Linked DNA regions of Homo sapiens: all the other regions are linked to region 1. The links are contacts of gene promoters, found by promoter capture Hi-C in blood cells and fetal thymus (Javierre and others, 2016). All regions are on one chromosome and are shown on one strand. Each heading gives the region's core, a stretch centred on a gene start or on the middle of the fragment in contact. The rest is flanking DNA. Distances are from core to core; before and after follow the strand shown.

The links. Contacts are between HindIII fragments. The CHiCAGO score rates a contact against its expected background, and 5 or more counts as called.
Region 2: the fragment with the promoter of LAMTOR5 here is called in contact with the fragment with the promoter of CYB561D1 in region 1 in 2 of 17 cell types (fetal thymus and total B cells); the score reaches 6.2 in fetal thymus.
Region 3: a contact is called between a fragment that was not itself captured here and the fragment with the promoter of CYB561D1 in region 1, in 1 of 17 cell types (naive CD4 T cells). The highest score is 6.1, in naive CD4 T cells.
Region 4: a fragment that was not itself captured here is called in contact with the fragment with the promoter of CYB561D1 in region 1 in 4 of 17 cell types (naive CD4 T cells, neutrophils, monocytes and 1 more); the score reaches 7.9 in naive CD4 T cells.
Region 5: a fragment that was not itself captured here is called in contact with the fragment with the promoter of CYB561D1 in region 1 in 13 of 17 cell types (non-activated CD4 T cells, erythroblasts, M1 macrophages and 10 more); the score reaches 7.5 in non-activated CD4 T cells.

What each region holds. Positions count from the first base shown.
Region 1 is chr1:109,489,709-109,495,441 of GRCh38, forward strand. CYB561D1 (cytochrome b561 family member D1) reads left to right here and starts at 4,386. Exons shown (of 3, transcript NM_182580.3): 1 at 4,386-4,579; 2 at 5,435-5,472. The coding sequence starts at 4,432. It overlaps ATXN7L2 (ataxin 7 like 2), which reads left to right. Exons shown (of 11, transcript NM_001350175.2): 8 at 222-420; 9 at 563-684; 10 at 1,214-2,009; 11 at 2,878-3,026. The coding sequence ends at 2,892. RefSeq lists silencers at 1,149-1,198, 4,157-4,386 and enhancers at 4,457-4,536, 4,526-5,026. The HindIII fragment of the contact is 3,360 bases long and covers 3,975-5,733 here.
Region 2 is chr1:110,404,557-110,410,289 of GRCh38, forward strand. It overlaps LAMTOR5 (late endosomal/lysosomal adaptor, MAPK and MTOR activator 5), which reads right to left and starts at 3,138. Exons shown (of 4, transcript NM_001382293.1): 1 at 3,030-3,138; 2 at 1,762-1,823. The coding sequence starts at 3,064. LAMTOR5-AS1 (LAMTOR5 and SLC16A4 antisense RNA 1) reads left to right here and starts at 3,253. Exons shown (of 3, transcript NR_102697.1): 1 at 3,253-3,398. RefSeq lists an enhancer at 3,080-3,309. The HindIII fragment of the contact is 8,453 bases long and covers 1-5,039 here.
Region 3 is chr1:108,827,030-108,832,762 of GRCh38, forward strand. AKNAD1 (AKNA domain containing 1) reads right to left here. Exons shown (of 16, transcript NM_152763.5): 10 at 3,530-3,621; 11 at 176-273. The region is part of intron 2 of LOC105378891 (a long non-coding RNA gene); the gene reads left to right. Among named protein-coding and RNA genes, the nearest start is that of AKNAD1, 27 kb to the right of the region's middle. The HindIII fragment of the contact is 371 bases long and covers 2,483-2,853 here.
Region 4 is chr1:110,035,322-110,041,054 of GRCh38, forward strand. STRIP1 (striatin interacting protein 1) reads left to right here. Exons shown (of 21, transcript NM_033088.4): 2 at 2,570-2,639; 3 at 3,362-3,436; 4 at 3,851-3,985; 5 at 4,074-4,194; 6 at 5,314-5,382. LOC105378895 (a long non-coding RNA gene) reads right to left here and starts at 118. Exons shown (of 3, transcript XR_947693.3): 1 at 88-118. The HindIII fragment of the contact is 5,545 bases long and covers 506-5,733 here.
Region 5 is chr1:110,018,811-110,024,543 of GRCh38, forward strand. It overlaps AHCYL1 (adenosylhomocysteinase like 1), which reads left to right. Exons shown (of 17, transcript NM_006621.7): 14 at 241-309; 15 at 738-816; 16 at 1,921-2,041; 17 at 2,864-4,932. The coding sequence ends at 2,870. Among named protein-coding and RNA genes, the nearest start is that of STRIP1, 13 kb to the right of the region's middle. RefSeq lists an enhancer at 1-407. The HindIII fragment of the contact is 2,571 bases long and covers 1,839-4,409 here.

The DNA of each region.
Region 1 (5,733 bases), core at 3,136-5,635:
GAAGGGGCTGGGGAGAGAATCCCTTGGGAGCAGTCTCTCTGTCTCTTACTCTGTGAGCTGTGTCGTTCCCTCCTGTCCTTCCCTTCCCTCTGTCCTCTTCTGATTGCCCTGCAGGGTGTCTGCCCTGGTGCCCTGCTCTTTGAGCTCGGCAGGTTCAAGGATGCCCCTACTCTGACCCCACAACAGTCACATTCCCCTGGCATCCCTTTTGGCCCTTCCAGGTCCCGGGCCTCCTCCGAGAGTGAATTGGATGATGAAGGCCCCTGTGGTGGTGATGGGGACCCAGGCCTGTTCCCCTTCCCCATGCCCCGGGGTGGGACCCAGGCCTCCAGCGAAGAGAGTGAGGAGGAGGGGACATCTGACGACCTCCACCCACCCCCTGACTGCCATTATGCAACCCGGCCCCCACGGCCACAGGCGGTAAGGACCTGGAATAGGGGCCTATGGAGGGGGTGGCCCAGCACTCCTGGCCAACAACATGGGGAGGAGGCCAGATCCTGTGTGCAGATGCTGTCTGTGCACCCCAGACCCTGCCAACCATGCACCTTCCTTCTGCCTTTAGTTCTGCACCTTTGGGAGCCGGCTGGTGAGCCCAGGATGCTATGTGTTTAGCCGCCGGCTGGACCGGTTCTGCTCAGCACTCAGCTCCATGCTGGAACGGCACCTCAGCACACACATGTGGAAGTAAGTCTCTCGGACCCAGAATGGAAGTTCTAGAATGGAAATTCCTAGGTTCCAGACATACTTGGGCTTCAGAAGCCCTGATCTTTCCTGTATACCCATAGGTGTGCCTTGGCTATTTGCCAGCAGGACCCCAGATAGGGAGTAGCATGAAAAGGAGGTGGGAAAACTTGGCAGCCTAGAGTTTGGCTAAGGCAGGGCATGGAAGGGTGGTCTGGGGGTGAATCTAGACTTTCATCCATCACTTCCAGTACCTTTTGGGTAACTAGGGATAGGGGATGCCCAAACCAAGATTTAAAATGAAGTTCCTAGTGGGCTGCCTCCTAGTTAGTAGGTACTAGCTAATTCCTCTCCACAGGCACCCCTGTGTCTTCTTCCTAACCCTCAGTTCCAGCATCTCCCAGCAGATGGCAGCAACTCTGGGGCTCTGCTGACCATTTCTAGGTGGGGCAGAGAGACTGGAGTGTGTCTTGTGTTGGGGGAAGCTGTCTTGTTTCTTGGCAGTCACAGTGGGGCTTTCTTTTTGCTGCAGGAAGATCCCACCGGCAGCTGAACCTCCAGCTCACCTTGTCAACTCCCCGTTATCTGCTCCCCTGAGCCCATCCTCTACAGGCACCTGCCCCCGCCTTCCAGGTCCAACCCTGAGACCTGCCTGCCCAGCCTCCATGCCCCCCACCAAGGACAACCTTGTCCCCAGCTACCCTGCAGGCTCCCCCAGCGTGGCGGCTGCCTGTAGCCAGGCAGAGTGCATGGGCGGGAGCCAGGCTATCACCTCACCACTGCCTGCCAACACGCCATCCCCGTCCTTCAGCAAGCTGCCGCCTTCCAAGGCCAGCAAGTCATCCAAAGGCAAGGACGGGGTGGAGGTGGAGGCCCCTTCTCGAAAGCGGAAGTTATCCCCTGGCCCTACCACTCTTAAACGGACCTGCATCCTGGAGCCCACTGGAAAAGGGAAACCCTCTGGCTGTAGGGGCCTCTCGGCCAAAACTAAAACAGCCCTGAGCATGGGGCTTAATGGGACAATGGGGCCAAGAGTGAAGCGGGCAGGGCCCCTGGACTGTCGTGGCTCCCCTCATCAGCTCCCCACACCAGTCAAGGCTTCTCAGCTGGAGAACCGGGGAGCAGCTGGACACCCAGCCAAGGCCCTGCCAACCAACTGCCTCTCTGAGGAGGAGGTGGCCAAGAAGCGGAAAAACCTGGCCACTTATTGCCGGCCAGTGAAGGCCAAGCACTGTCAGGCTGGTGCCCCTGCTGATGTGGCCTGCTCTGTGCGCCGCAAGAAGCCAGGCCCGGCCCTGGCCTTTGAGGAGAAGTGCTCTACACTGAAGGTACCAGCCAGGCTCCCTGAAGATTGATGAGGGTGGGGCACACAGGGGGTACCTGATACAGAGAAGATGCTACATTGGTGTTTGTGCAGGGAAAGGGAGGAAGGGGAAGTTGAGAGAGTTCCTGGACTGTTTTCTTTAGGAAGAGGTAGGTCAGTTCTTAGCAAAGTGACTCCAGCTTTTTGCCTGGTGAACCTTCCCCTATCCCTAACCCTTTCCCTTGGGCTGAGGAGATGCGGCACCCCTCCACCCCTGCTTTTGCTATAATCAAAGGGCTACTTCTTTCTGAATTGGCTGTGACCCTCATTCCAGGTACTGGAGCTACCTCTGTTCCCTGAAGGAAAGGGAGTTTGAGTCCCTGGGTCACAGCCTAACATGCCGAGCAGCAAGGTGGGTGGGCTGGTCTCACTGGTTTTTCCTCTGGGCATCAGGGCCTTGAAGGGCAGGCACACAACCCCATGTCCACTTATGCACATGTGCCCACCTCCAGGTGTGCAGGTGACAGGCAAGTTCTCCAGGGTTTCCAGTAAAGCCTGCAGCCAGTTTTATTTGCCTCTTCTGGTGGGAGCCCTGGTGTAGTGTGCTATGTGCTCTCCATATGATCTCTGCCAGGAGGGACTTACTGGAGGTGGGACGGGGGTGCTCTCCTGGGTTAGATGTGGGCCTAATCATAAACCCTGTGTGTTCTCCAGCTTCACTACCCAGGCTGCCCCTGGTGAGCTGGCATTCATCTTCCCCCTTGCTCAGTTTTACTCACCAGGCCAGCAGAAGGAAATCAAGCTTTAGCCTCTGTAGTGCACACAGTTCACTGGGTAGGACAGCTGGTAGGCCCCCACCCTGACCCTTTCTCTCGCCTCTTGTCTTCCTGCAGTCAAAAGCCCATTAACGAGAAAGTGCCTGCCCACTGCAACGGAGCCGCCAGCACCTCCTCCCCTCCAGATCCGGGCCCCAGGCTGCTGCCGCTTTTTATAACTTTATATTATTTTTTTTTAAGAAAAAAAGCTCTTTAAAATACCTCAAGACTGTCTCCCTGTTCTGTTGCTGCTATGAAAATATAAAAACAGAAACATAGAAAAGGAAGGAAAAAAAATAACAAAATGAGTGTCCTTACTGTCCCCAGCCCTACCCTGGGAGGCTGAGATGATAGGCAGCCAGACTCCAGCTCCCATAGCTTGCCTGCAAAAGTCTCTTATGCTCATTATTATTATTATTGTCATCTTGTCATTTTCAATAGTGTGAAAAATGTTTGTGTCACTGGGGTAGTCTTTCCAGACAGGATGATGAGGCGTGTGGCTCTGAATGAGTAAGGCTTCCTGAGTCTTGACACCAGAGACGACTATGGTCCCATTGGGAAGAGAAACTCGAGAGGGGGAGCTGCACTTCTGGCTCTTTCTAGGATCCTTGCCCCGAGGGTCTGGGAATTGGCTTGTGACCCTTTTCTGGTCCTTCAGCAACCCTAGGCATCCATCCCTCCCTGAATTATTGCCTGCTTTTCTTCAGCTGTTCCTGCAGCCTCATTTTCTCAGCCACTTAGGGAGCTTGAGCTGGGTTGGTCATTGCTGTTGGGATATTCCTGTTTTCTATTGGACAGCCTTCCTTCCCTGCCTGTGGGTTTGCCTTTAAGGAAGGGGTAGAACCTTTCCCAGGGAGGCCTCCTTGGGTTGAACCACCCCTTTTTTGGAGGCAGGAAGGGAAAAGGCATCATCACTTGCAGAACTGGTGGTGTGGGAGGCCACAGGAGTGTGGGAGGCCTTGGTCCTTCAGGATCACCTGGCTCCTCAGGGCTGAGCAGCTGCTGAGGAGGCGGCAGGGCTGGGAGTGCCCTAGTTTTTCCATTTATCTCGCTGGGGACCACTCCCGTGCAGATGCGAGAGGAGACTTGCATTTCCCTCCTTTGGTCCACCAGGTTCAAGGCACTATATTTTGGCGATGTCCTTTCCTATTCTCCTTGCTCTTAGGCATGGAGGAAGCTTGTTCCCTGAACAAGACAAAATGAGGTGACAGGAGACAGTGCACAGCCAGGGAAATCCAGTACTACTAGAAATCGGCTCCAAACACTTGTTTCACAGTCTTGGTTCAGCGTACCAAGTGTGTGATTTGGGGTTTCACTGAAATCGTTTGCCACAAAAGTAATTTCCACAGGCTGCTTGGGATTTAGGCCCTTGTAGACAGACACACAGATACAAATGAAGGTGGGCTGGGAACTGTTCGGTCCCCTTCTGCCTCCGGGCTCTCGCGGGAGCGGGCCTCTCCGGGGCACTCGCGTTTCCCCCCCAGCCCCCAGAGGGCGCTGTGGGCCACTCCGCCGCACTGCCGGCGGCGTCCCCGGGGAGGAGCCTCTCCTGCAGCCGCCACCGCCTCCGCGATCGCAAACCCGGAAGACGTGTTCGGGCAGCTGGAGTGTACGGGCCCGCGGGCCACGGCCATGCAGCCCCTGGAGGTAGGTCTGGTTCCCGCTCCAGCTGGGGAGCCGAGACTGACCCGCTGGCTGCGGAGAGGCAGTGGGATCTTGGCGCACCTGGTAGCTTTGGGCTTCACCATCTTTCTGACAGCGCTGTCCCGGCCAGGAACCAGTGAGTGTGCGGGGCGGGGTTGCGGAAGGGGGCGGAGTGGAGATGCTGGAGGGGCAGCGCTTGGGAGCCCCGGGAGACTTGGAGGAGGGACCCCAGCAGTAAAGGGGAGACAGAAACAGTGGAGGGATTTTGAGGGCCTGGTGGGGCGGGGCCCCAGGGATCCTGGAATAATGGGGTTTTGGGTGCTGTGGGGGAAGGGCAGACGATTGAACAGACCGAACTACTTCCTCAGAAACAGGTCCCCTGATGGAGGATAGAAGTGAAGGAGGCCGGGCGCGGTGGGTCATGCCTGAAATCCCAGCACTTTGGGAGGCCGACGCGGGTGGATCACTTGAGGTCAGGAGTTCGAGACCAGCCTGGCCAACATGGTGAAACCCCGTCTCTACTAAGAATACAAAAATTAGCCAGGCGTGATGGCGCGCGCCTGTAGTTCCAGCTACTTGGGAGGCTGAGGGAGGAGAATCGCTTGAACCCGGGAGGTGGAGGCTGCAGTGAGCCGAGATTGCACCACTGCACTCCACCCTGTGCGACAGAGCGAGACTCCGTATCAAAAAAAAAACAAAAAACAACAACCAAAAAAAACAAAAAACAAAAAAGGGGCAGAGGACTGGGCTGCCAGCTGAGAGGTGCTGAACGGGGAACCCGGGCCAAACTGTTGTATGTGTGTGGATAAGGAGGCCCTCTTGGTTGCTCACCCTGGGGCTCCTTGGCTGCTCCACTTTGTCCTTAGTTCCTGTGCCCGATTAGGATTGGGGATGGTACTTTTCTCCTGTGGCTAGATTCTTTGGGTTCCACCTAGCTACAGGGGCAGGAACAATGGTACCAAGCCCTCAGCCTGTTCTCTTTGATTCTTAGGTCTTTTCTCCTGGCACCCTGTATTCATGGCCTTGGCGGTGAGTTTAGGCTTCTATCTGATTTGTTTGGGTATTCCTCACCTCATTCTCCCAGGGAAGCACCCAGCTTTCAGAAAGCTCAGCCTTTCTAAGGCTAAGACAGGTGGAGGAAACATCTAGGGCTCATCTTTCCCTGCAGCCTATGGGATTGGGAAACCTGGAGGGCTGGGCCATAGGCAGTTGTCAGATGGTTGAAAAGGGCGGGAGGGCATGGAAGATAATTTCTTTCTCCATTGGGGCCGGAAAGGAGAAGGGGGGAGA
Region 2 (5,733 bases), core at 1,888-4,387, 910 kb after region 1:
TTCCAGCAAAAATTCAGAGCTTTAAACATTCCTGCATTAGGAGCAACAAGTCTTGGGTTTACTAGTTGTCACTAATTAACTGAATGCTTTACTTATTTACCTTTCCAAACTTATTTCCTCATGTGTAATTGCTACCATTTATTAAGTATTATGTCTCAGTTCTATGTAAGCATTTTATACATATTATATAACCTTAAAATATCGTGATTAGGCCGGGTGTAGTGGCTCATTCCTGTAATCCCGCACTTTGGGAGGCGGAGGTGGGTGGATCACCTGAGATAAGGAGTTCGAGACCAGCCTGGCCAACATAGTGAAACCCTGTATCTACTAAAAATACAAAAATTATCTGGGCGTGGTGGCAGGCGCCTGTAATCCCAGCTACTCAGGAGGCTGAGGCAGGAGAATTGCCTGAACCTGGGAAATGGAGGTTGCAGTGAGCCAAGATCGTGCCACTGCACTCTAGCCTGGGCGACAGAGCAAGATTTCGTCTCAAAAAAAAAAAAAAAAAAGTGATTAAGAGGCCTCAGGGCCAGACAAAAATCCTAGCTTAACGACTTACTAGCTGCATGACCTCAGGCAAGTTATTTAACCTCTGTGTCTCAGTTTCTTTTTTTATTTTTTGAGACAGAGTCTCGCTCTTGTCATCCAGGCTGGAGTGCAATGGTGCAATCTCGGCTTACTGCAACCTCTGCCTCCCAGGTTCAAGCGATTCTCCTGCCTCAGCCTCCCGAGTAGCTGGGATTACTAGCACCTGCTACCATGCCTGGCTAATTTTTTTTTGCATTTTTAGTAGAGATGTGGTTTCACCATGTTGGCCAGGCTAGTCTCGAACTCCTGACCTCAGGTGATCCACCCGCCTCCGCCTCCCAAAGTGCTGGGATCACAGGTGTGAGCCACCGCATCCGGCCTCTTTTTTTAAATTTTAAAAACATATATATATGTTTATTGTAAAAATAGAGATGGGGGGTCTCACTGTGTTGCACAGGCTGGTCTTGAACTCCTGGGCTCAAGTGATCTGCCCACCTTGGTCTCCCAAAGTGCTGGGATTACAGGCGTGAGACACTGCACCTGGTCCCTCAATTTCTTTTTCTACCTCACTGGGTTGTTATGAGGAATAAAAGAGTATATGTAAAGCACTTACAATGGTGCTTGGCACATAACAGCTCAATAAATATAATTCTATGATTATTACCATTATCAAATAACAACCCAGTGAAGAAAATGAGGGCCTAAAAGGTAGTTTTTTGGTCCACGTTCACACTACTAACAAATGAAAGAGCAAGGGATTGAGACCAGGTATGTCCAACACTGAAATCCCATTTTACTGCCTATTCACTTCTTGTTTAGTGTAGTTGAGCTTCAAAATTGTACACCACCCACCTTGCCGGGTTGTTGTGAAAATTAAAGATAATGTATTTAGAGCCTAGCAGTCTCAGCATATGGCATACATTCAATAAATGGTTAACAGCTGTTATTATCTGAAGTCCTTTCTAGACTCAATTTAAAATGATTCAAATATTATTTTTAGTAGAGACAACTATTTATTGTTATAGGACTGCAAGGAACATCTTCCTTCATAAATACCAACTGAAAAGTTTCAATTTTCTGATACTGTTATTTGGAGATAATCTCTACTCTCAAACTCAGAAAGACCTGGCAAGGTAACAGGAAATAAAAGCTAGAAAATAATAGCACGCTAGGCTCCAAGTCAACATCAGATGCTATGCAATTCATCAAATAGTTGGTATGAGAGATACTTACAACCCAGATTAAGTCCTTGTGAATCTGTGCACAGGACTCCAACAATGGAGGGATTCTTCATTCTAATTCCAGGAACACAAGAGAGTTGAAGTACATAATGGGAGAAAAAGGATTTAAATAAGTACAAACATACAGGTGTTCTATGTACCAGGCATTAAGTGCTTTAAATCAATATTTCTCAATCTTTTTTCATTGTCACACCCTAAGAAAAAAATTAAGTTCTAGGGCCGGGCGCGGTTGCTCACGCCTGTAATCCCAGCACTTTGGGAGGCCCAGGTGGGCGGATCACCTGAGGTCGGGAGTTCAAGACCAGCCTGACCAACATGGAGAAACCCCGTCTCTACTAAAAATACAAAATTAGCCAGGCGTGGTGGCGCATGACTGTAATCCCAGCTACTCGGGAGGCTGAGGCAAGAGAATCGCTTGAACCTGGGAGGCGGAGGTTGCAGTGAGCCGAGATCACGCCATTGCACTCCAGCCTGGAAGACGAGCGAAATTCCGTCTCAAAAAAAGAACACAAAAAATTTAAGTTCTAGTTAATTAATTGAAATAAACCAGTTTCTCTCTGATGAGAGAAAAAAATGTGCTAAGTACTGCTGAGTTCTGGAGGGCCACAAACACTGCGTGAAAAACATCTAGGATGTTTTCACTCTTGTTAAAAACGCATGTTTTAGTACTAACTCATTTAAAACAACTGTTGAAAAACTCAAGTTACCTCCTGGAGGGTAAGTGGAAGCTGAGGGACATCGGTGGGAGGCAGGTGTCTCTCTGTACCCTTTACACTTTTCCAGTTTTGAATTTTACATAGATACTGCTTGTTCGAAAAATTTAAAGAATGATTTTTATCTACTTAAGCACCAAGTAACTGATAGGTTACACACAGGAGATACGTGTTTGTTTACACTGCAGGGCTCGACACTGCACAACTGGCACAATCTTCCCAAAAGTCAACCCGTTTTCTAAAACTTCCGCAGAACCACCCTGACCGTAAAGACGATTTCAACAACGAGATAGGCAGTTTTGGCCCGTGGCCTGGGCCCGGGAGACTCGCTCAAGAGGGAATGTGCGGTGCCCGGCAGGATTTTAATTCCGGGTCACCCGCCCCGCCCTGCGGCCTTGGGTAGAGTTTAGCCCCCTCATCCCGTGTCCCGGGGGTCGCGCGACGTCCCCGAGACGCCCTGGCCGGTACTCGCAGCTCGCGCCTTTCGTTCCGCTCAAGTTCCTCCGCCGCGACCTCAGGACAGGCCGAAGAGGCGCGCACTACTCACGTGTCTTCCAAGTGCTGCTCCAAGGTCGCCTCCATCCCACCCACCGACCACTCCGGCTCAGAACCCAGCGGCACGGCACGTCCTTCTCCACCACAGGCCTCAGTCACTTGACGCGAGCGGGGCGTGGACCGTAACGGCGCCTCCAAAGGGACAAAATTGATCACGGTGCAACGTCCGCGTTCTTTACTGGAAAACATCACTGCGCTTCCGTCGCACAGAGCCTGACGAAGGCTTGGGCTCCCCGCGCGGTGACCGTCGAGGTGACCTGCACCTGGCTCCATGGCGGAACCGGCCGGCACGGATTATTCCCCTCTCGGGAGAGGTCTGCAGCCGGGCCTCAGTGCTTCAGTTCGTGGCCTGGCATTTTGTGTCAGTGTTTTTTAACCTTTGGACCCTAGTTCAACCGACTCCGAGACCTAGGGGACAGATCTTAAGTTTTACAATAACCCAGGGGTCAGACAGGGTCTGATCTAGCCTGTGGGGCAAGTACGGGGAAGACACGGGACCTCTTGGAGGGGGTCAGTAGGCTTGTAGGGGGAAAGACGCACACAGAGACTAAAGGACGAGATGGAGCAAGGTTCAACCCCCTAGCTGAGTGTTGGCAGTGTCGGGATTTTAACGAAGACATTGGTGCTTATTATGGTGAGGGGACTCAGGACAGTTTAGGGGAAGAGAGTGGCATTTGAGTCCTAACTCGTAAGGAAGACTGGGTAGGACTACTTGAAAATAACTTTTAAAAATTAATTATAAAGCTGGTAAAAATAGGAAAACATCTATGGCCCCACTGTCCAAAGACGACTTTTAACTTCTTGGAGAATATCCTTTCAGATAGTTGTCTTTGTAAATGTATACTTTTAATGTTTTTTCGTTTGCCTTTTTAAAATAAATTTTTTGGGGGACAGGGTCTTGCTCTGTTACCCAGGCTGTAGTGCAGTAGAACGATTATAGCTCATTGCAACCCGGACGTCCTGGGTTCAAGCTATCCTCACCTCTCAGCCTCTCGACTGGCTAGGACCACAGCCTCGAGCCATCATGTCTGGCTAATTTTTACGTTTTTTTGTAGAGATGGGGGTCTCGCTGTGTTGTCCAGGCTGGTCTTAAACTCCTTGCTTCAACAGATCCTCCCACTCCAGCCTCCCAAAATGTGATTACAGGCTGAGTCACCACGCCTAGCATGGTTTTTTTTGTTTTGTTTGTTTTGTAAGCAAAATTGACATACATACTGGAGGTACAATTCTGTAGCTGGCCTTCTTTACAGAGTTTAGAATAAATGTCTTTCCATGTCAAGTTTTCACTTACATCCTTTGTAGTAGTTGCAAAATATTCCATTTTATAGCTGTATCTTAATTGTGGATTAAGGTTGGAGTGCAGTGGCACTATCATGGCTTAGTCCAGCCTCAGCCTTCTAGGTTCAAGCGATCTTCCCACCTCAGCCTCCCAAGAAGCTGGGACTACAGGGACCCGCCACCCCACCTAGCTAATTAAAAAAAAAATTGTAGAGATGGAGTCTCAGTGTGTAGCCCAGTCTCAAGTGACCCTCCCTCGTTGGCTTCCCAAAGCGCTGAGATTGCAGGTGAGCCACTGTACTTGGACTTTTTTTTTTTTTTTTGCTTTTGTTTGTTTTTTGTTTTAGCTATTACAATGCTGGTTGAATATCCTCATAGCTAAATATCTGTGCAGTTTTAAAATTTCCTTATAAGTTACTAGAAATGGAATGACTGGGTTAAAGGACATGATCATTTTTTAAGACTCTTGATACATACTTACAAATTGCCTCCCGAAAAAGTGGTGCTAATTTACTCAAATTGGTAAGCCTCACCCCCTCTGTGGATCATTCCTTGCACTAAGTTTCTTCCAACTCTGTCACCTCCAGCTTTTTACTCACAGCCTACCTTCCAATCTGGGGCCCAGCTCCCAGATCGGAAGATACCAGACTTTGGTATTGAACCAAAGTCCAATACACTGCACTGGCATTCAGAGTCCCTTTTTATTCCGCAGCTGTCATAGTGAAGCTTGCAGCTTCCTTGAAATTCCAGTTTGTTTATTTCTTTATTTTTTTGAGACAGAGTCTTGCTCTATCGCCCAGGCTGGAGTGCAGTGGCGCCGTCTCAGCTCACTGCAACCTCTGCCTCCTGGTTCAAGCGATTCTTCTGCCTCAGCCTCCCGAGTAGCTGGGATTACAGGCATGCACCACCACACGTGGCTAATTTTTGTGCTTTTAGTAGAGATGGGGTTTCACCATGTTGGCCAGGCTGGTCTCAAACTCCTGACCTCAAGCGATCCGCCCACCTCAGCCTCCCAAAGTGCTGGGATTATAGGCATGAGCCATTGCACCCAGCCAAAATTCCAGTTTGAATGTTATAATTCAGGGGTCTTGGACTCCTGCTCTAGAGAAATTATTCATGTTAAGTTAGGGGTAACACAGTACAGGCCATATAAGTTTTAGAAAAAGCAGTTTAAAACTTAGCATTAGAAAACATAAGTACTGCCTGGTGAAATGGCACGTGCCTATAATCCCAGCTACTCAGGAGGCTGAGGCAGGAGGATCCCTTGAGCCCAGGAGTTCAAGTCCAGCCTGGGCAATATAGTCTAGTGGCCACATTAAAAAAAGTAAAACAGCCGGGCGCGGTGGCTCACGCCTGTAATCCCAGCACTTTGGGAGGCCGAGGCGGGTGGATCACGAGGTCAGGAGATTGAGACCATC
Region 3 (5,733 bases), core at 1,418-3,917, 660 kb before region 1:
CCATGCCCAGCCTATTAATTCTTTACATTTTGCAAATAAATAAATACAACATGCAACATCCTAGTGTAGGGAAATGCTCTTGGAGTGGCAGATGGCAAGCTGGTGCCTACTGCGAGCAGACCCCATGGGGAGGGACACTGAAAAATGAGCACCCAGCCCAAGCCCATCAACTTACTGGGAGTTGAATCTGAGTGTGGTGCCTTTTCATGAAGGACAATTGAAAATCTTCCACAGTTGATCCTTCCGTGGCCCTTTTTCTCCACGTTTTGCTTCCTAAAAAAAGGTGCATAAGATCCTGTAAACTTTTAGTGCATTTCCAATAGATAGGGAAAGTTTTGGTAAAGTTGAAACGTTAAATTTTGTTATATTAGAGCCTGGAACAGTGTAGGAGGGGCTTGTCATCCTCTACACAGAGCTCTCCTCTGCCTGCCTGTTTGAGAGCTTTTCTACAAGAAATTGCACCCCAGCACAATTTGGCCTGATAAGAAAATGTATACAAGACAGGCCAGGCGCGGTGGCTCACGCCTGTAATCCCAGCACTTTGGGAGGCTGAGGCGGGCGGATCACGAGGTCAGGAGATCGAGACCATCCTGGCTAACACGGTGAAACCCTGTCTCTACTAAAAGTACAAAAAATTAGCTGGGCGCCGTAGTGGGTGCCTGTAGTCCCAGCTACTCGGGAGGCTGAGGCAGGAGAATGGCGGGAACCCGGGAGGCGGAGCTTGCAGTGAGCCGAGATCGCGCCACTGCACTCCAGCCTGGGTGACAGAGCGAGACTCCTACTCAAAAAAAAAAAAAAGAAAATGTATACAAGACATGAAAAATAAATGTTTTGTTCTGCCGAGGTTAATATCTAATCATCACATACACATTCACAAAACACATTTGAAGTATGGAATTATAAAATTTGGAGTTTTCCTCATGCATCAAAATCCATTCCAGGCTGGGTATGGTGGCTCATGCCTGTAATCCCAGCACTTTGGGAGGCCAAGGAGGGTGGATGGCTTGAGACTAGGAGTTCAAGGTCAGCCAGGGCAACATGGCAAAACCTCATCTCAAAAACAAACAAACAAACAAACAAACAAACAAACAGTTCCTACCAGGGGAAGAAACTATGCTATACGTCAGTAATGGGTCACGTAGCTTTGGTCCTGGAAGTACAAGCTGATTACATCCAACAACTCCAGCAAAGTGGGCTTTGCCGGGTGTCTGTGGGACTAAAGGCTGAGGGAGCACGTGAAGGTGATTTTAGTTGCACATGGCCACCAGGTGGCGTCAGAAAGAAGCAACTGCAATGGACATTGTTCAGGAGCCTTCCTGTGGCCCACCTGCAGCTTCCTCCCTCCTCCTCAGAAATCCCAACTCCTCCAAAGGAATTCGAATTAATAACAGTTCTGAACAAAGCTCTTGCTAAGCTCCTGGGATACAGTCATAGCCCCCAGGGAAAGTTGTTCATTCTTAGTATGGAAGGCACTGTGCCCGAGATATCCTGGCATAAATGAGGCAGATTGCCCAGGGCTAGGGTTTGAGCCCAAGGCATTGCTGGGCAAACACATGCTCGCCGCGCTGTGCCCTGGCCTGCTGTTGGCGGAGAAGGGATGGGGCTGCGGGTTTGTGGGGCTGGGGCTGAGAAGCCAGGCTCTTTCCCTCCTCTTGGAAAAACATGCTGTCCTCTTGAGTCACATATTTTCTCACACCTCATTTTCTGTCTCCACCCTTCTCCTCTGGGGCATTTGAACATCTGCTCTCCAAAGTGGGAAACTTGGATCTCACTCAAGTGCATGCAGTCCAACACAGGACTTTTTCTGCTTTTAAACTCCTTTGTGTACTCAAATCTTCTGGCCAAACATAATTCCTCTGGAGAAGACAGTTTTTCAACAAGACAAAGCAGCTAAAGTACACACTTAAATCCAAAGTTTTGCATCAGAAATAACATAAAGGGATAAGCATATTTTACATTTTATACATATGTAATTTATCCACTTATATATAAACAATTTACAAATATCCTGAAAACAGTATGTACCTCAGCAAGCTTCATAAAGGACAAGTCCCATCAGAGAGAGATTTAATCTTCTAACAGAAAGAATATATAGTCCTCCCTTCAATCAATAATTCCTCAGGGATTATGTAAGTTACAAGATTTTAATTCATAAGTCATGTGTATCTTCTCATCACTCCCCAGCAGTGGATTCACTGTGAGATTTGATTTTACACTTGGTTGTGCTTGTCTTTCCAGCTTGTCTATCATAAAAAAGTATTATTTAGTCTGGAACATTGGTCCCTGTCTTGGTACTTAATGTACTTCTGTAGGGTCTAGACTAGGAATTTAGAAGAGAGAAATTTAGTACCTTGAGTGCTTAATAAAAATGGTTCTTTAATGTCAAAATACTTTCATTATACTTAGTAAAACCTTTAAAAATCCAAAATTAGACTTTAATTCAATAAATAAAAATAGTAGGCCTGGGATGACTCAGTGAGTAAGCTTCATGAGTGCCCCTTGGATTAAAGGGCAGCTCAAAGCTGATGACTGACATGGTGGTTTAATGACCCACACACAATGACACATGACCATTTTTAGCACGAGCTTCATGCAGTTTCTTTTTTCAGGGGTGGACACTCATTAGAACTCTTAAGGCAGGTGCCCATTCCCACAATGGAATGCTTTCTAACAGGAAGCCTCAGTCTTTCAGACCCTGTCATCTGCTTCTATTAGAATCCATTACGTACATATAACAGTGGTTGCTAAACACCTGCTGCCTCCCTGACTCTTGACCTTCCAAAGGTCAATGAGCCGAGCTTTGGCCGGAGTCCACAGTGAGCTTAGAGGTAACATCTCTCGCTACCTGAAAGAAGCTTCAAATAAATGATACTGAATCGACACAGATTAATAGTTGCACCAATGGGTGTTTCAAAAACAAAGGATTTCTCCTGAGGATTTTACATGATTTACAGCTTGTTAGCTCTGGAAGATTTCGTCCTTAGGAATGGGAAGAAATCAGCCCTGAGAAGAGGGATGAGGCTTGTTCCTGGGACTGGGGGGCTCAGGTGAAACCCAACAGAGAAGACTTTTGCTCATCATAAGGAGAGAGTAGGGATGGTGGGAGCTGTTTGTTATACAGGATAAGAATCCCCCATGTGGGCAATGATCAAAAGCCTACAGGACCACCCTCCGTGGGCTGTAACCATGATTCTTAACCAAGGGGGCTTATCGGAATCACCTGGGGAGATTTAAAAGCAATATTCCTACCAGAGCCCCACCGCTGGCGATGCTGAGACAGTAGGTGGGATGGAGGCATGTGCATGATTGTAAAATCTCCCATGGTGATTTTGATGGTCTCCCCAGTTGAGGACCACTGCTAGAGGATCTGTAGGGTGCGAGGGAGGCTGGGCTCTGTGCCCAGGCCTGAGATCTGTGACTCTATAACTCAGCCAGTGGCCTCAGTTAGTTGCCGCCCACTCTCACTGGAGTTACTATGCCAGGACTGACTCCAATCCACCCTGGGAATGTAGCCACAAGAAGCCCTCACCATTCAAGGAGCCTGCGACAGAAGGCACAGCTCGGACTGGGTGCCGTCATCTCTGCACAATCCTGCCTTCTTGGAGTGCCGTTGGGATCCTCCTGCGCCACAAAGCACACAGATGGAGATGTGATAGAGGATGTGACTCACGCCGCGGCTGCACACGCACAGCCCAGCAAGCAGCTGAGGTCCGGCTGAACTTGCCACCTCAGGCAGAGAGACTCGCCAAACCTCTCCTCCAGTTGGGGAAAGGGAGGCGCAGGGGGACAGGAGGGAAAGAAGAAAGAGCCCATCCTTAGTTCTGATGTGTCACTCAGTCGGGGCTGCGCCTCTAATGGCCTGGGCTGAAGAATGGAAGTTTCCACCCTGGCTTGCTTCCTTCCTCCTCTAAACAGATTTTAAAATCTGGTGTACAGATGACAGAATACTCTCCCCTTTTTATCTTTCCCTTAGTTTCAAATTACTCCAAGCTTCGCCAGATAATGAACAGATTTAGGAACATAATTTTTAGATCTATTAATCTGACCGCTGGCTAGTAGAGCTCTAAAAGCCTTTCTAAATAAATATATTCAACTATGAATTAAAACAGGGTTTAGGGACTGTCTGGGGGCCTAAATGATTGGTTATATGTCCCTCTTTAACACAAAACAATTACTCCACTGACCTGTGAGGGCTGTTACCACCCACTGTGTATTTTTGACTAAGGTCTTACCCTTTATGTAAGTAAAAAATAAATGTACTTTTCCCATCATTATAAACAATGGCAGAAGCATCATTGTACACATAGCTTTTTCCACATCTTGGATTACTTCCTGAGGAAATGTCTGGGCCAAAGGTTGCGAACATGTTTGTGTGATGACCCATATTGCCAAATTGCTTTCCACAAAAGTTGTACAGATTTCACAGCCACCAACAGTGTGGACGGCTCAGTTTGACCACACCTTCCTCTGCATCAGGAATTATCACTTGAAAATGTTTCTGTTAATTGAAGGGAGGGGTGTGTCACCTTTTGTGTTAATTTGCATTTCCTCTGTGACTAAAGGAAATAAGTCTGTTCCTATATGCTGATTTATTGGTTGTATTTCCTACCTGTGACTTTTTTTTTTTTTTTTGAGACGGAGTCTCACTCTGTTGCCCAGGCTGGAGTGCAGTGGCCTAATCTCAGCTCCCGGGTTCAAGCAATTCTTCTGGCTCAGCCCCCCAAGTAGCTGGGATTACAGGTGCCCACCACTACCCCCAGCTAATTTTTTGTATTTTTAGTGGAGACAGTTTCACCATGTTGGCCGGGCTGGTCTTGAGCTCCTGACCTCATGATTCGCCCACCTCGGCCTCCCAAAGTACTGGGATTACTTTAATTGTGAGTAATTGTGTGAGCCACTGCGCCCGGCCTTACTTGTGACTTTTTAGCTCATGTCCTTTGTCCATTAATTTTCTTGGAGGGTTTCAGTGTTTTCCTGTTACCATTTGCTAGTTGTTCATGATGTGCCAGGTGCTTCCCTTATAGTCTCCTTAATACTTCCAACCATCCTGGCACGTTGTCGCCATTTTAATGGTGAGTGATCTGAGGCCTGGCGGATTTAAGCAATTTGGCAAGGTTGCATCATGAGTAAGTGGGAAAGCTGGGATTTTAACTTTTACCTATCTGACTGGTATGCTGTGTTCTTTTTTTTTTTTTTTTTTTTTTGAGATGGAGTTTCTCTGTGTTGCCCAGGCTGGAGTGCAGTGGCGCAATCTTGGCTCACTGCAACCTCCACCTCCCTCCCAATTTCAAGTGATTCTCCCACCTCAGCCTCCCTTCCAAGTAGCTGGGACTACAGGAACACACCACCCCACCCAGCTAATTTTGGTATGTCTTAGTAGAAACAGAGTTTCACCATGTTGGTCAGGCTGGTCTCGAACTCCTGACCTCAAGTGATCCACCCGCCTTGGCCTACCAAAGTGCTGGGATTACAGGCGCGAGCCACTGCACCCGGCCAGTATGCTTGTGTTCTTAACCACAGTTCTGCTCCTTGGGGAATTTGTCACAGCATTTGATATAATGAAGTTCTCAACAATGAACATTATTTGCCCTTAATATTTTCTCAGTTGTCTATCTACATTTTTTTTAATTGATGGTGGTTTCAGTTTTGTAAACAACTTAAAATATCAATATTGTCAAGGAGGAGGTGCGAGTGGCCAAGAAACATATGAAAATAGATTGAGTTTCAAAAATA
Region 4 (5,733 bases), core at 2,028-4,527, 540 kb after region 1:
GCTAATTATCATTGAGAGTAGAGTAGGAGGGGGAAACATGTCCTGTTCTTCTGACCTGAGCCAGATCAGGCCATGGGTTAACAGTACCTGTGGTGGGCTATTGTGCCCAGTGCGCCTGATACTGAACTGTTAAAGATGAGAAATAGACATTTTAAGCATGCGTTAGGACCCAACATTCCTTCCTGTCTCGCTAGTGAGCCGTTCCTGCCGTTCTGGAGATGGCATAGTCTGGAACTGACTAGTAACCTCACCCCAAGTTAAGGAATTCCTCCCACTGCCTCCTTTTGCAGAATTCATGAATGAAGATACTCATGTCGCGGAGTTTTAGGGCTTCTTAATGAGCAGGTTCCCAGAGCACTTACTATGCCATCTCCTAGATTGATCAGCAGCCAAACTGATCAGCCAAGTTAATGAGAGGGAATTCCTAGTTGTCCAAGCATAATGTACCAATTCATACCAAAGAGCAATGATACTACCTTTAGACCTGTGGAATCAGTTCCTCAGAAGCTTTTATTTTTTGTTAGCAAGGCTAAACCCCTGAGAAAACATGTCAACAATTGGCAAGCCCGAAGTAGACGTAATTTGAGCTTGGAGTGAATTATTTGAAAAAAACAAAAACACTGACCATTTAGGAGCCCTGGCATGGTGGGATGACGGACATCAGTGTTAACTACTCAGTTTTTCAAGTGGAAGATTACGAAAGTGCAGGGGGGTGAACCTACCTTCATCATGAGAGGAGTTATCATTTTGAAAAATGGTTTAAAATTTTCCAGAGTAGCTACGAATGGTCAAATAGATACCCTCTGACGAATTGTAATTTCTCTTTGTACCCTTTAATTTCCACATAGAGGCCGGGTGCAGTGGCTCACGCCTGTAATCCCAGCACTTGGGGAGGCCGAGGCGGGCGGATCACCTGAGGTCAGGAGTTCCTGTCCAGCCTGGCCAATGTGATCAAACCCTGTCTCTACTAAAAATACAAAAATTAGCCGGGCGTGGTGGCTGGTGCCTGTAATCCCAGCTACTCAGGAGCCTGAGACAGGAGAATTGCTTGAACCTGGGAGGTGGAGATTTGCAGTGAGCCGAGATTGCACCATTGCACTCCAGCCTGGGTGACAAGAGCGAAACTCTCCCCGTCTCAAAAAAAAAAATTTCCTCATAGACTCATTACATGAAAGACCAGTCAAATGGACACATTTAAGCAGAGACCTGTCTAAATCCATTTCTTTATAGAGAGTCTGATGCCATGATCTTTCTTTAGTCATAGCTGAAATCGGTAGTTTGGGAGCCTGATCAGTGAATGCCTGGAGGACAGGGAGGCTCACATTTGATGAGAGCCCACTATGTACTACATAATTTTGATTAGTCCTTAAAAATCTTCAAAGTAGATTTTCATCATTGCCATTCAATGAATGAAGAAACCGAAGCTCAGTAACTTGTGAAAGTGTACACTGTGTTATCTCTGAACACAACGTGGAGTTCTTGTTTGTGGGTATGTTTTTTGTTTTGTTTTGTTTTGTTTTGAGACAGAGTCTCTGTCTGTCTCCCAAGCTGGAGTGTAGTGGCGCGATCTTGGCTCACTGCAACCTCCACTTCCGGGGCTCAAGCGATTCTCCTGCCTTAGCCTCCCGAGTAGCTGGGACTACAGGCACGCCCCACCATGTAAAAATATATTTTTAAAAAATTTTATATTTTTATTAGAGACGGGGTTTTACCATGTTGGCCAGGCTGGTTTCAAAGTCCTGACCTCAAATGACCCGCCCACCTCGGCCTCCCAAAGTGCTGGGATTATAGGCATGAGCCACCTCGCCTGGCCATTGTGGGTATGTTGTGTCATTTTGTGGCTGGTCTTTGTCTTCCCAGGTAGACTGTAATTAAACCTAAGGACTTTACCTATTTGTTTCTCACTTCTCTCTTCCCAGTACAAGGCTTCCAAGATGGTGTGTTCTCAGTAATCACCTATTTCCAGCAGGAAAAAGATTGTCTTTGTCACATTTTCTCTTATGTGTGGGAGGGAAGTTGATCTGTTTGGCGGCTGCCTTCTTTGTCAGTTCTCACTGAAATTTGAGACAAAGGTGGGAAAGCTGAGGGTTTCAATACTCATTTTTGTCCTGAGCTGTTGACAGTCCACTAGCCAGAAAGAAGTTAAGACTTCTGGAATCATAGCATCATATGGAATGGTCATTTACTGCACAAAATACATAGAAACCTTGTATTTATTCATTTAACAAATATGTGTGTATAGACCATTCATTCATTCACTTATTCATGCCAGGTACCATGCTGGACCTTGTGAAATCATTGGTAAGTTAAATGGATGATGTTCTTGTTCTCAGGGAACTTACAGTCTTGTGGAAAGGCAGACAGTAAACACATCCTATAATGATAAGTTATGATAAATGCTCTGAAGGAAAAGTATAGGATACTCTGAGAGGTTTTAGGAAACAAAATGTGAAAAAACATAAAAAAGTGGAGGCAGTGGTGTCCTGTAACACAACAGCATCTCGAAGCATGAGTTTCTTTGATAAATAGAATGATCCTTTTTCCTAAAGCTCTCTCCTCTTGTCAGCAGGGCTATTCGGAGTCACCAGACCTGGAGTTTGAGTATGCTGACACAGACAAGTGGGCTGCAGAGCTCTCGGGTAACGCACAGACCTTTGTGTTATTTGGGGGTGGTTTTTTCCTTATTGGTCTTTAATAAAATTAATAATGAATATCATTTAGGGCTTCATTGCTTTCCCTAGTTCTATCAAATATATATATATATATATATATATATATATATATATATATATGTATAAAACATGTTATTTGATTCAAGCCTTGTGTATCTTATAACTTTGTGTTGTCCTTTACTTTTATGAAGCTGGCTAGAGCCCAGTCCCATTGTGAGACAGTGATGTTCCTTGGCTATCCACTGTGACCCTGACAGTGGTCTCTCCTCCAGCAATGGGTCATGAGGGATGCCTGCATCTGTGCCCATCTGCTGCTGCCACTGCCACTCTCATGTAATGCGAGGTCGGTGTGAGCTGCTTCTCCAGCCTCTACAATACACATCCTGCTCAAGAGGTAGCAGCCATTTGAGAGATGCATCCCAGGTGGCCGTCAGCCCTGGCATGGCATGGTGGGATGGATGCACATCGGACTGGAAGTGTCCAGATGGCATTCTGGCACTCTGGTTGTCTCTATTGTGCACATCAGAGCACTAAGATCCCCTTCATAATTAGAGAGCTTATTCCAGGAGTCACTATGACTCAGGGGCAGAGTTGAGAGTGGAAGCAAATGCCTTGCCTTCTCTGCACTTGTGAGACCTGGTGTGCAATGCAGACATGGAACCAATGGTGACGAGACTTTGTTCTGACAGAGCTTTACAGCTACACGGAAGGGCCAGAATTCCTGATGAATCGAAAATGCTTTGAGGAGGACTTCCGGATCCATGGTGAGATGATTTCCCACACTTCTTGCTTCCTTTGCCCTGCATAACGAGAGCTGCAGGTTTCTTTTAGGCATCTGAATGACCTGAGTCATCCTGGAACAGCCTGAGAAGCCTGCTGAACCCTGATGGTTCAAAGCCAGATACATGTAGAGTGGGCTTGTGGCACATCGGTGGGGGCTTTTCAGAATGTGCATATTAGGGGAGAAAAAAAAATCATGTGATTAAAATTGCACCCAAAATACCAGCGTTTCAGTTTGGAATCAAATTCATAGAGCAGCAGTATGATCTTACCACTTACATAGGGTGTAACTTATCTTTCTGGTCCTATGGCAGTCCTGAATTTGGTGAGTTAACATGGGTCCATGCCATTGTGAGGATTTTTCTAGGCTCAGGTGTAACTGGTTTCTTGCCCTGCAGTGACAGACAAGAAGTGGACTGAGCTGGATACCAACCAGCACCGGACCCATGCCATGAGGCTCCTGGATGGCTTGGAAGTCACTGCCAGGGAGAAGAGACTCAAGGTGGCTCGAGCAATTCTCTATGTTGCTCAAGGTATTGAGTGGACCTCCCCAGGGTTCCCTGGCACCTCTGCCCACTCAGATGCAGGGAGGGGCTCAGTGAGTTGAACCCTGCATTGCAGGCACGTTTGGGGAGTGCAGCTCGGAGGCAGAGGTGCAGTCCTGGATGCGCTACAACATCTTTCTCCTCCTGGAGGTGGGCACGTTCAATGCTTTGGTGGAGCTTCTGAACATGGAAATAGAGTGAGCATTTTTGAGAGGCTGAGTAGGGAAGGGGAGGCTGGGATGGGAAGGGGGACAGAGCTTGCAGAACTAACTGGCTTTGAGAGGGTTAAATGGGGCAGAAGTTCTGGTCCCAGGCTGTGTTCTGACCACCTGGGTTGAATAACGGAGTTGGTCACTTACACCTTGAAGATTAATGGAGACTAATGACAGGTCCCTGCAGCTCCCTGATGCCAGAGTTTTTACACCAGACAGTGCAGGCCCTGCCCAGGCCTGGGGTGCTCCTCAGAAGGAGACTCTTCACTTTGAGCTCTCTTTTGAACCTGCAGACACTGCTGTGTTCGCCCTGCAGTTTCCGCCTTGGCAGGAGGCCAGGCACAAGACTGACATATGGGCTCAACCAGTGCCTGGCCTTGCCTGTGTCACCTTTGTCCAGTGGACAGGTCAGCTGCTGCTCATCTAAGGATAACACCATCAATGATAAAGCTAAGACAGCTCATTGAGTGCCTGTGTGTCCCGGGCATTGTTCTCAGAATATTACATGTGCTAATTCATGTTAAGGATATAGGTACTACTGTCATCCCCATTTTACAGATGAGGAAACTAAGGCGCAGTTAGAGCCAGGATTCAAACCGTGGCAGTCCAGTGCATGGCTGGGTTTTTTGTTTTTGTTTTTGTGTTTTTTTTGTTTTTGTTTTTGTTTTTGAGAGAGAGTCTTGTTCTGTTGCCCAGGCTGGAGTGATATGGCGTGAACTTGGCTCATTGCAACCTCCACCTCCCGGCTTCAAGCTATTCTCCTGCCTCAGCCTTCTGAGTAGCTGGGTTTACAGGTGCCTGCCACCACACCCAGCTAATTTTTGTATTTTTAGTAGAGATGGGGTTTCGCCATGTTGGCCAGGCTGGTCTCAAACTCTTGACCTCAGGTGATCCACCCGCCTCGGCCTCCCGAAGTACTGGGATTACAGGCATGAGCCACCATGCCCAGCCATGGTCTGGTTTCTTAACCACCGTGTCCTGTGGCCTCTTGTGCAGTCCAAGCACGTATCACAGCATTTTGTTTCCCCATTGGTCAGTACTTGTCAGGGACATCACTTATCTTCCTTCTTGGAGGAAGATGCTGACTCTCAAAATCTCCTGCAGCAACAGTGCCGCCTGCAGCAGTGCTGTGAGGAAGCCTGCCATCTCCCTGGCTGACAGCACAGACCTCAGGTGAGGCGAGCAGCAAGCCTGGGCTCCTGAGCGTTAGTCAGAGATGAGATCAGAGCAGGGTGTGGGAGGCTGTCTGTGGGTGTCATTGCTGTGTGTGCTTCTGTACACATCATCTGCATGTGTGATGGGCTCAGTGTGAATGATTAGTAGGAACTGCTGAGGGCTCGTCCTAGGTGGGACTCTGGGTTGAGACTCCCAAAGGCAATCCAGGGTCAAGTGACTTACTAGAGCCACAGCTAAGTGTGGCCTCCTACTCACACTGTTACTCAGGACCTGGTCGTGGGGTATTTTGTATTTGGATGAAACACTTGATGGTGTTCCCTGGACTCCCACCTTCTTGTGTACACAGCT
Region 5 (5,733 bases), core at 1,874-4,373, 530 kb after region 1:
AAAAAATCTACTTTTTACTAAGTAACACTATTTCCTAACCACAGCTGATTCTTTAACCTTTCAGACTCAGATGGATTTGCAGAAAATAGGAAAAAGCCTAGAGTCCTGATCTGGAACTGTAATTCTTCCTCTTCCAACTGAGTCTAGAGGGGTGTAAAGTCCTCTCCCGCTTTGGCTTGACTTGTATGCCATTGGAATCTGAGACAGAGCTCATCCCAGGGCTCTCTCTTACCTTTCCAGGGTCGTCTACTCAATTTGAGCTGCTCCACAGTTCCCACCTTTGTTCTGTCCATCACAGCCACAACACAGGTATGTGGCAAAATGCCTGCTTACACTGCACTGCAATTTGTGGAACTGGGCGTAGATCAGTTCCAGTGAGGGTGTACTGTACTATGTTCTCATCATCCTATTCTTTTTTGATGTAATAAATTGTGGAAACAGGTATTCTTAAGTATAGAAAAGAGTCACTAAGTCAGTATTCGTTGAATTGGCTGTTTTAGTTGAGAATATAATGTTCCAGCTTAGTTTTATTTGATTTGTTCTTTCGTTAGGAACTAAACAAAAACAACAAATCCTCTTAGGATGTGTGCTGCCCTTTAGTATAGGCAAAGTCCTAGGTACTGTGACTGTGGTAGATCACTGTAGTACTTACCCAAATGCTGTTTAACCTGGTTTTATTTTTATGTGCCTGTCTAAGAAATATTTTTGTGCTTTCTGGCCTTCTTTTCCCACCTTAGGCTTTGGCACTGATAGAACTCTATAATGCACCCGAGGGGCGATACAAGCAGGATGTGTACTTGCTTCCTAAGAAAATGGGTGAGTGAAAAACAGTGGAAATCTATGCAGACAGCTGCATAGTTTGGTAAAATGACTGCCATGAAAGGCATTGGATTTAGAGTCAGAGTTCCAATTCCTGTTCCTGTGCTTACTGGTTGTTTGACCTCAGGACAAGTTCTAATCTCTATGATCCTCAGTTTCTTGATTGGTAAAATGAAAATAATACTACATACATTGTAGAATTGTGTGAGAATCACAGCTAATGAGTAACAGTGCTTAACACAATGGTTTAGGGAGATGTTCTTACTCTAAGTAGCCTTATGAAGTTCAGTAAACTTCCCAGTGCAGCTGAGTACATACAGCCTTGGAACAAAATGAGAGAAACAAACACAGGTTTTATTGTCCATTTTCTGTGAGGATATGCAAACCATCCAATCTCTTGTAAGCAACCCATGCTGTGTTCATGTGACATAATACATCATCTCTAGTCCTTTGCCTTTCTGCACGGTGTACCCATCTCCCATATCTCCTTGGCTAGCCCAAATCCCTGACTTCTTAATGCTAAAATACTTCTTGCTCTCCTCTCCTCCAATAGCTTACTTCAGACTTTTTTTTCAGTGTATAATTATAAAAGGGAAGCTTATCTATGGAAAAGTAAAAATTCTGTGCCGACTACCTTAGAAATTCATGATCCTAAGATCCATGGATCTTATCCTAAATGAGTGTTATTGACACAGGGTCTTTCTAGCTTACTGGTGTCCACTTTGATTGCTAATTTGACTATAATCTAGTTAAGGAGGTTGCTGCAGGAAGGTAGGAGTAGCATGTGACATGTGGGCCACTGCAGGGAAGCCCCCTGCTTTGCCAGAGAAGGATAGAGAGGTAAAAGCCCACTCCCTTTTGTTACCCTGGTAAGTGGCTTTTCTGAACGCACTGTACATGTGCTGAGAGAAGCATCCTGCCCAGAAAGGCAGCTTTGAGGTTTTTTTTTTAATTAAGCAAATATTTCAAGTTGTGGATTCTTTCAGAGTTATTCCATCCCTTGTCTGCTTTCTTAAAAAAGCTTCAAATGAAAATGGGAAGTTATAACTTGAGAGACATTTTGAAAAGGAGTCTGCTCTCCTGCCACTTTGCTCTTCCTAGATGAATACGTTGCCAGCTTGCATCTGCCATCATTTGATGCCCACCTTACAGAGCTGACAGATGACCAAGCAAAATATCTGGGACTCAACAAAAATGGGCCATTCAAACCTAATTATTACAGGTAACCTGGGGAGAAGCAAGTGAAAAGCTCTTTTTCCCAGTATTAAACCAAGCAGGCTAGCCTGCTTCTGACATAAAGATCAAATGTTGTACCTGATTTTGAAGAATACAAGAAATCTGTTCCAGGCCAGGCACGGTGGCTCACGCCTGTAATCCCAGCACTTTGAGAGGCCTAGGCGGATGGATCACTTGAGGTCAGGAGTTCAAGACCAGCCTGGCCAACATGGCGAAACCCTATCTCTTAGCCGGGTGTGGTGGCGGGCACCTGTCATCCCAGTTACTCAGGTGGCTGAGGCACGAGAATCACTTGAACCTGGGAGGCGGAGGTTGCAGTGAGCTGGGATCATGCCACTGCACTCCAGCCTGGGTGATGGAGTGAGACTCTGTCTTAAAAACAAACAAACAAACAAAAAAACTGTTCCAGTTAACAAGGTAGATAGAGAAATTGTGGGAGATATCAGGGAGTTAGGGTTTTTTTGAAATTTTGGAGCCTGGGCCTCACCCTAAGAGATTCTGATATATTTGGTCTGCGATGGGACCAAATTTACAAAACATTATTTTGTAAAACCTCCCCAGATTATTGTAATGTTTAGTCAGGGTTGAAAAAACACTGACTCATTCCTGGGAACAGGCGGTAACACCAGAAATGGCATTGTCAGAGACCCTGTGGAAGAATAAGGGAGACTGGTGCCCTGGGGAATGACTGCAGGGATCCCACCCAGGCTGGGGAGGGGCCCTGGAGAAGGTGCTCTGTTTCCGATTGTTTTTTGGAATTCTCATATGGAAGACATAAGTGTTAACCAATCACTCTCTCTCTTTACAGATACTAATGGACCATACTACCAAGGACCAGTCCACCTGAACCACACACTCTAAAGAAATATTTTTTAAGATAACTTTTATTTTCTTCTTACTCCTTTCCTCTTGATTTTTTTCCTATAATTTCATTCTTGTTTTTTCATCTCATTATCCAAGTTCTGCAGACCACACAGGAACTTGCTTCATGGCTCTTTAGATGAAATAGAAGTTCAGGGTTCCTCACTCTAGTCACTAAAGAAGGATTTTACTCTCCCAGCCCAGAAAGGTGATTCTTTCTTTACCATTTCTGGGGACTTTAGTCTTAATTAGGTACCTTATTAACAGGAAATGCTAAGGTACCTTCTCTGTGGAACAATCTGCAATGTCTAAATCGCCTTAAAAGAGCCCATTTCTTAGCTGCTGAAATCAGTGCTCTTTCACTTCTTCAGAGAAGCAGGGATGGTACCTACCCGGCAGGTAGGTTAGATGTGGGTGGTGCATGTTAATTTCCCTTAGAAGTTCCAAGCCCTGTTTCCTGCGTAAAGGTGGTATGTCCAGTTCAGAGATGTGTATAATGAGCATGGCTTGTTAAGATCAGGAGGCCCACTTGGATTTATAGTATAGCCCTTCCTCCACTCCCACCAGACTTGCTCATTTTTCGAGTTTTTAACTAGACTACACTCTATTGAGTTTAATTTTGTCCTCTAGGATTTATTTCTGTTGTCCAAAAAAAAAAAAAAAGAAAAGAAAAATTAAGGAGAATTTTTGGTGTTAATGCTGAGGAATTGCTTGAGTGGTTAGTTGTTACCAATTTCTCTTTTGAACCTTTGGAGCTAAGGATGCTGAGTCTAGAGAAATGCTAGTCTCAAGCCCTGTTAAGTCCCTCTGTTTCTAGCCCGTAGTTCATAGCATCAGTGAACTGGAGCCACAACAGCAAATTCTATCAGCTGTGTACCATACAGCTTGTGCTGAAGGCGAATTTCTTGAGCCATTACTCAGTATAAAGCACTGAGTTCTATCTTTAGGATTTATCTTTAAGAGCAAATTTCTGGTCAGCTGTGCTTCTGCAACCTAAAATATTTAAAGGGAGGTAGGTGTGGGCAGGAGGAGGAATGATAAATTGGGCCAGGGCAAGAAAAATCTAGCTTCATATAATTTGTCTGGGACTATACACCCTATATAATGTTAGTTTTACAGAAGTAATATGACTTTTGATTGCTACATACCACAAAGAGTTTATGAACTGAGATCATAAAGGGCAACTGATGTGTGAAGAAAGTAGTCAGTACATCCTGGCTCATGCTCTGAAAGAATATCCAGAGAGGCTCTCTCAAAGATCAGGGAGATGTATTCCCATGCCATGCACCCTGCTTCCCAGCATTTCTGCATGGTCAAGTGAGCTTTATGCTCATGAGCTTTAAGTATATAATTATCCAGGATTTTAAATCCTCAACTTGTTCTAGCTTGTGATCCCTCAAAGTTGGGTCATACGTTAGTGCTAGATACTAGAAATTTTCACTTTTCCACTGATCAGAGAGACAGACATTAAAAACAAAAATAGAAGAAAGGAAAGCTTTCACCCTGCAGCTTCTTAGCAGGGAACAATTGTCTTGCCAAAACTTTTTTCCCTTTTCTCTCCCATTTTCTTTTACCCAATCCCTTCTTACTCCTTGCCAGTGTGACCATGCTTTCTTCTCTGTAGATGTTAACAGTTAAGGCCTATTTTCCTCGGGCACTTAACCAACCAATCAGAACACCACATCTGTTAGGGGAGGTAACCTGGCCAACAGTGTATCCATCACGTTAGCCCTGCTGGAGGGAAGGGACCCACATTCACCTGCCCTCTGACCTGCCCCTTGATCCCATATCTATTACCGTGTCCATAGGAATAATAGGTAAGGGCTCTGTCTCTGTCAAGCCATGTAACAAAGGACACTGTTAAAAAAAAAAAAAAGTCTGGCATCAGAGGGAGCATGTGGAGAGCAACTTGGGAAGAACAAGTTCATTTTGTATTGAATGATTTTTAATGAATGCAATATTAATCCTTGCAGATGAGCAATAATCATTAAAATCGATTAAAATGATAAGACCTTATTGGCAGTCCGTATGTGTCATTCTTTGTTAAACAGCAAAACTTCATTAGAACCTGTTTTCTAGGGTGTGACAAGTTATAGGTCAGTAGCATTTAATAGAGATTTGTTGAGGGCCTAATATATAGAGGCTGGATACAGGATTCTTCAAAGTAATACCTGAAGTTTTGTATGCCTGCTCTGTGCCAAGCACCGGGCCTGGGTACTTTCACTCCTAACTTCCTTCAGGAAGCAGACTTGCTGCTTAAGCCTCAGGGTTCCTCATTTGCATAGTCCTTCTAAGACCTAATTTCTGAAGAATGCCCCCAAAGTTATGTAAGCTTCAGCCTCCTCCCACACCTGTATCCATTTCTGAAGTGGTCTCAGTGTCTTTTTTTTTTTTTTTTCTCTTTATTTTTTTGAGACAAGGTCTCACTGTCACCCAGGTTGGAGTGCAGTGGCTTGATCTCAGCTCACTGCAACTTCTGCCTTCCGGGCTCAAGTGATCCTCCCACCTCAACCTCCCAAGTAGCTGGGACCACAGTGTCAGCTAATTGTTTGTATTTTTGGTAGAGATGGGGTTTCGCCATGAAATCTAGGCTGATCTCAAACTCCTGGGCTCAAGTGATCCTCCTGCCTCTGCCTCCCAAAGTGCTGGGATTACTGGCCAGTGTCTTCTGATGTAAGAAAGTATTTATCTTGGTCAGTTTCTGCTGCTCCAGCAAAATCCTGAGACTGAGTAATTTATAAAGAACAGAAATTGATATTCTCACAGTTGGAGGCTGGGAAGTCCAAGGTCAAGTCGTTGGCAGATTTGGTGTCTGAA